Linked DNA regions of Homo sapiens: region 2 is linked to region 1. Evidence: promoter capture Hi-C in 16 types of primary human blood cells and fetal thymus (Javierre and others, 2016). All regions are on one chromosome and are shown on one strand. The core of a region is centred on a gene start or on the middle of the fragment in contact, and the rest is flanking DNA. Distances in the headings are between cores, read along the strand shown. Region 1 holds the start of NRCAM (neuronal cell adhesion molecule). Region 2 overlaps PNPLA8 (patatin like domain 8, phospholipase A2).

Region 1 (3,295 bases), core at 552-3,051:
CAGGGCATGGTTAGCACAATGCAGTCCCATAAAGCAGCCCAGCCTCCGAGGTTTGTATTCAGAGGTTACTGTGTTCCTTTCCAGGACCACCCCAGGGGGAGCTCCTGGTGCACAACCAATGCTTCCTGCCTCATTACACTTGGCTCCATCTCCTCCTGCAAAAGCCTGGGGCGAGGAAGAGCCCAGTCTCTTAGACCCGCACTTCTGAGCGTTAACCATCTGGGACTCGGAAAGGAAAAGAAAGCTTTCTTCTCAGGACAGTTCTGCGCCGGTGGTAGCCAAGGGCTGGAGCCCCTGATGCGAAGAAAAGGGAAGGAGAGAGGCGGGGTGCGAAAGAAACGCCACCGCTCGGCGCCCTCCCTCGGTGCCCGCGGCGCAGGGGCCACCCGCCAGCGTACGGGGGACGAAGATGTGGCCGCGGGCGCGGGCGGGAGGGGAGGCGATCCGGGGAAGGAAGCGGCCTGTTCGCCAGCCCCGGGGCCCGGGGAGCCCTCCAGCAGCGCTTGCGGCCCTGAGGACACCGCTTTGGGAGAAATGACGACTCCCTTGCTCACCCTACTGCGACACCCCGTCCCCCTCCGCACTCTAGCAGATGCGGGCCGGGAGTAGCTGAGCTGGCCAACCGCCTGGGACCAGGATGCGGCAGCGCCCACCCGCGCGGCGTGGAGGGGGCCGGGGGCGGCGCTCGGCGCAGATGGCGCTCGCTGCGAGATGGATGCTCCAGGGCGGGTAATCACTCCTGGCTCAACACAGCATCCCGGGCGGAGCGGATGCCAGATCCCACCGCTAAGAGCCTGGGCTGGGAAAGCAATCTTTCCAGGCAGCCCCCAGCCCGGTGCGCCGGCCCCGACAAGTCCCAGCCCTCGGAGGCAGGGCGGGGCGCAGGGACTCCCGGGACCCGCACCTGTAAGGCCGACAAAGCCCCCGCAAGCGCCCCACCCCTCTGTCCTCCGTGTCTCTCTCGTTCCGCCTCGATTCCCCGAGCCCTCTCCAGGCAGCGACTGGAGAAGCGAAGTCGGCCTCGCCCCCGAACTCCGTGGTCAGCACAGGTGTACGCACTTCCGAACAAAGCCCACGCCCAGACGTGTCCGCAGGGGCCCGAACAGGCACACGCCCGTGCGCTCCCGGCCCGGCCCCCGCGCTCCTCGCCCCGCCGGCACTGTGGCGTGACGCCCCGCGCCTCCGTGTCCAAGCCCGGGAAGCCGCCGTGCCGGGCCCGCAGGCTCTCCATGCCCAACTGCCCACGAGCAAGAGCTCTGGGCAGGGCTTCCCGGAAAGCGTGGGGTGCGGGCGCGGAGCAGAAGTTGGCCACAGGCTGGAGGGGGTGGTGGGTGCCGGCGCTGCTGGATTTCAGCTGTGCCTTCACCCAAGCGCAGGTCCCCCTGCTCCCTCTCGGCGCCCGCGGGAGTGTCGGGGGCCTGCAGGGGAGAAGGGAGTTGGAGATCTGCTTTGCCCCTCCTGCAGCGCTGCCAGCCCGGTGAGCGCTCGGCTGAACCCCGCGGCGGTGTCCAAGTGACAACGCAGCAGCCTCGCGCGTCCTCCTCCGCTCCAGCCGTCACCCCCGAGCAGGACCCAGTGTCACCGCCAGACGCGCAAGGAGCTACTTACGTTCTCGCGCCGCGCCCTCCGCTCAGCTCTGGCGCGACTGCCCAGGACCCTGGACCGCCGGTGTCCTCCGTTCTCGACGAAGCTATCCCCTCTGGCTGCTCCAGCCAGGCGGCCCCTGCGCCGTCCCCCGCGCCCGCGCGTCTGAGGCTCGGACTGCGGCGCGCGTCCGCCAGCGACCCTGGCGAAGCGAGGCTGGCCCCGCGCCGGCGCGCGCCCCCGCCGCTCCCGCCCTCTCCGCTCCCCCTCCCCGCGCCGTGCTTTTGCCCCTCCCGGCTCTCCTTAGCGTCCTCCCGTCCCCCTCCCCCGCACTCCCTGCGGGCGTCCTCCGCCTCCTCCCCTCCTGGCCAACCCCCTCTTGCCCTGCTGCTGCGACGGCAGCGAATGGGCTCCAGCCGCCGGCGCCTCGAGGGACTGGGTGGCCCCTCACCTGAGCGGCCGCCCCACCGCCAACCTCCGTCAGCCTGCGAGCGCGTGTGGCGGCGGGGGTGGGGGTGCGGGGACGGAGGGCGGGAGTGTTCCGGGGCTAGGATGGCTGGGATTTAGCTACAAAAGATGTTCCAGAAAATGGGTAGTTTTTGAATGCCACTCTCATGGGTTTAGCTTTCTGTGGGAGGTCTGTGGTCTTCTAGTTTTTTCTTTTTTAAAAAGCACTTTCTTCGAAATTCATCAGTTGGGGTGGTTGAGATTGGGTGAGTGGTTTTGGGGGTTTTGTTTTGTTTTTGCAACCGTTCTTTCCAAACACTCCCCGCCGCCCCCCACCACCGCAGAAAAAAGAGCTTTTAGCATAAGGCGGATGCTATCTATCCGCGGTAGAAACTGGGTCTTCTGGTCCCAAGGAATAGGGTTAGTTCGGATTTGCTTATTTACAAATGGGGGAGTATTATGGAGATTTTTTTTTTTTTTTTTTGGCAATGTAAATCGAGAATTAAGATTTTCCAACTGTATAGTATTTGAGTAAACACACTGCTTGCTGCATAGTTCAGGCTCCGAAGCGCACGTCTCCACTCTATCGTGGATGGTGTTCAGGATCCTTAGCCTGACCCTTGGGTCCTCCGTAATCTACTCCGGTCTGCACACAAATTACTTGTCTGCTGGGTATCACCCGACTTGACCACTTACAGCAGGCTCCAGCGCTTAGTGAGCTCAGCGGAGCCTTGATTCCTTCAGTTCTCTAATTCAGGAAAACATTTTCTGAGCTCCTCACCACCCCACCCCACCTCACCACCTCCTCCACCCCCAGCCTCCAAGGTGCTGGGGCAAGATTCAGGAATGAAAAAGAAACAGGTTCATCCTTCAAGGTCTTGACTACCCCAGTGGTCTGTTCTAACTTCAATTTGAACTTGCCCCGTCAGCTCACAGCATCTGCATGCAAGTGAGCAGCCTTCTTTTCCTTCTCCTTCTACTGCCATCCTCTCCTCCTTCTCCAGCCAAATGTGCTCTGGCCTCACAGAGCCTCCCTCGGTTCCTGAACCAGCATGATATCTGGCTGCTGGGTCATTGCACAAGTTGTTTCCACAGTCCCATCAGTGGTTCTTCTGACTCTAGTCCTTACCCAACTGCCATTCAGGTGGTACCTTGCACCTCTCAACTAATTGTCCAAATTTTCCTCTAAAATACCTTCCCCCCCGCAAAAAAAAAGATTCCATGATCCCCCTACTTGAAAGTCTGGGCTGGTGGGCTGGTTCTC
Region 2 (2,961 bases), core at 82-2,581, 35 kb after region 1:
TATACCATCTAAGTATGTCTAAGTACACTCTATAATACTTGCACAATGACAAAATAATCTAATGACACACTTCTCAGAATGTATCCCTATCATTAAGTGATGCATGATTGTATTGTATCTAAGAGGCATATAAAATTTCTCTTTAAAAATCTAGGGTAAGAAGGCTGGGCGCGGTGGCTCACGCCCGTAATCCCAGCACTTTGGGAGGCTGAGGTGGGCGAATCACGAGGTCAGGAGATCGAGACTATCCTGGCTAACATGGTGAAACCCTGTCTCTACTAAAAAATACAAAAAATTAGCCGGGCGTGGTGGCGGCTGCCTATAGTCCCAGCTACTTGGGAGGCTGAGGCAGGAGAATGGCGTGAGCCCGGGAGGCGGAGCTTGCAGTGAGCCGAGATTGTGCCACTGCACTCCAGCCTGGGCGACAGAGCAAGACTCCGTCTCAAAAAAAAAAAAAAACTAGGGTAAAAAATGTCATAATGTTCCTTAAATCACTAGATTTGATTTTTAAAATTATGATGAAATAATTCTTATTTTCAGTCCATCTTTCATGTTCTTCCATTTCTGGTATAGTTTTACCGAATTTATAAAAGGTATAAGGATGATATCCCATCTCTTCATAGAATGACTCAATATATAAAGAATTAATACAATCTGTAATACCTTAATAAAAGGGCCCTCAGGGCCGGGCACGATGGCTCATGCCTGTAATCCCAGCACTTTGGGAGGCCAAGGCGGGCAGATCACCTGAGTTTGGGAGTTTGAGACCAGCCTGACCAACATGAAGAAACCCTGTCTCTACTAAAAATACAAAAAAATTAGCCAGGCGTGGTGGTGCATGCCTGTAATCCCAGCTACTTGGGAGGCTGAGGCAGGAGAATCACTTGAACCTGGGAGACGGAGGTTATGGTGAGCCGAGATCGTGCTATTGCACTCCAGCCTGGGCAATAAGAGTGAAACTCTGTCTCAAAAAATAAAAATAAAATAAAATAAAATGGCCCTCAGGACAAGTGCTTTCACCAGACCTTCAGATGGAACTAGGTGTTATATTTAAGAGACTCTAAGCTTACCTTAGGACATGTGGGGTTTCTTGCTGTTTCAATCATCAGTGCAGATCCCATCCTATCCCTTTATTAAAGGAGAAAAAAATAAGTTATATCAAAATGACTTTATCTCCTAACAACCAGGAAACATACAGTATGCAATTACTATTTGTCCATGGCTTTGTCAAAGTGCTATGAAGGAAAACATGTAAGACTCTCCTCTAGGAGGCTTATAATTCCATTAATGCACATGAAACAATATGCAGTTATTTATCAACCTCTGATTCAAACTGCAAGTATCTACAGTTCTGAGGTGGAGCAACGAACAGAGGGGCAGTAACTGGAAAAGATGCAGGAAGGTTGCTGGAGGAAGACATTGAAAGACTGCAAGGCAACATATTTAAAGCTAGGACATATACAGATTAAAGGCACAAAGGCAAAATAAATCTGTTGTTTTCAGGGTCCTGCCAATAGGATAAAGGAGCTGTGTTGAGATAAGACTGCAGAAGTATGCACGGGCTAGTTAGAGTAACCAGGTGAGGACAATGAGACTTTAAGCTTGTTTTAGTTGGTAACAGCCAATGTCATCAAGAAAATGGCTTTGAAAATCATCAGAGTTGGCATTTGAATTACTATGACATTACAGAAATTGTCCTTGGGCAGCAATTTTTGCAATTCCATAATAAGAGAATTTTATTTCAATGCAGACTTTTCCAGACTTAAAAATTATGTATTTTCCCTATATTGAATACAAAGACTATGGTTTCACCAGCCTTCCTCATGAGTAAAACCATTTTCTAATGTGTTTTTCAAACAATACTCATGTTTCCCAACTAGAATATTAGTGAACTTCATAAAAAGAATATTTACAAACTGCTCAGTGATCTACCCTTTATAAGCTTTAATAAATATCAATGTAAAATACTTTCCAAAATGGACAAGATCTTTTGTCTTTCCCAACCTGATCTATACATTTCTACTACATAAAGATCAATGCATTTTATCTTTTTAAGGTTCTTTGTCTTTTCACAGAATTCTTACTGTAAAATTACAAGAGAAATCCTAGGAGCATGCTGATTTCACACTTTTTGGCAAAGTTCATATTTATTTATTTTTATATTTGTTTAAATCTTGGTTTTCTCAAAACCTAAAATGCTTTTAGTGAATTCACTTATGAATATAAACTTGTAAAAAAAGCAATGGTAATTGTTTATTTCCGAGATGTCAAAATATGAAAAAAAAATCAACATGCCTAGATTCTACTGATGGCATAAAATAGTTCCCTTAAAATAACACAAAATTATCACAGCAAAATAAATAAATAAATAAAAGTCCTCTCAATAAACAATGGGCGAAAAAATGCTACGACAAAAAAGGCCAGAAGGTAGATATAGAAGAATATTAACAATACTGGCACCCAGTGAATCACAGTCCTGGTATCCATGTCATTGTATACAGTCTCTTCCTATACAGACTCTTGGTTGGCATGGCTTTCGTCCATGTGACCTCAACAAACATGCCATTAAACTGAGGCTTGATAAGTGCTTATGCACTGGGGCTTGCTCTCTGGGAACTCTGAAACCACAATGATGAGACGAAGCTTGGGTGAGAATGACCAGGTGGAGAGAGAGGCTTCCCAGGCCCATTGGTAGAGCCACCAAGTGAGCTCCGGCAAGAACAGAAGAAACACCCAGTCAAACCACAGAGTCATGAGACTAAATCATCATTGTTTTAAGCCACTAAGTTTTGGAGTGGCTTGTTCTGCAGCAAAGGCTGAGTTTGAAAAAGCAGAGAAAGAAAAAACAACTAACGACACTGATAAAATTTATCAATGCCATGATTAAAAATAAAGAAGTTGCCAGAAGAGCAAAAATGAGACAGCAATACATAAATATGCAAAGATACTCTCATAAGTAAC

Evidence for each region. Contacts are between HindIII fragments. The CHiCAGO score rates a contact against its expected background, and 5 or more counts as called.
Region 2: a contact is called between a fragment that was not itself captured here and the fragment with the promoter of NRCAM in region 1, in 1 of 17 cell types (naive CD8 T cells). The highest score is 5.7, in naive CD8 T cells.

Annotation. Positions count from the first base shown.
Region 1 is chr7:108,454,635-108,457,929 of GRCh38, forward strand. It overlaps NRCAM (neuronal cell adhesion molecule), which reads right to left and starts at 1,802. Exons shown (of 33, transcript NM_001037132.4): 1 at 1,609-1,802. The HindIII fragment of the contact is 7,436 bases long and covers 243-3,295 here.
Region 2 is chr7:108,490,340-108,493,300 of GRCh38, forward strand. It overlaps PNPLA8 (patatin like domain 8, phospholipase A2), which reads right to left. Exons shown (of 11, transcript NM_001256007.3): 8 at 1,071-1,128. Among named protein-coding and RNA genes, the nearest start is that of PNPLA8, 34 kb to the right of the region's middle. The HindIII fragment of the contact is 536 bases long and covers 1,064-1,599 here.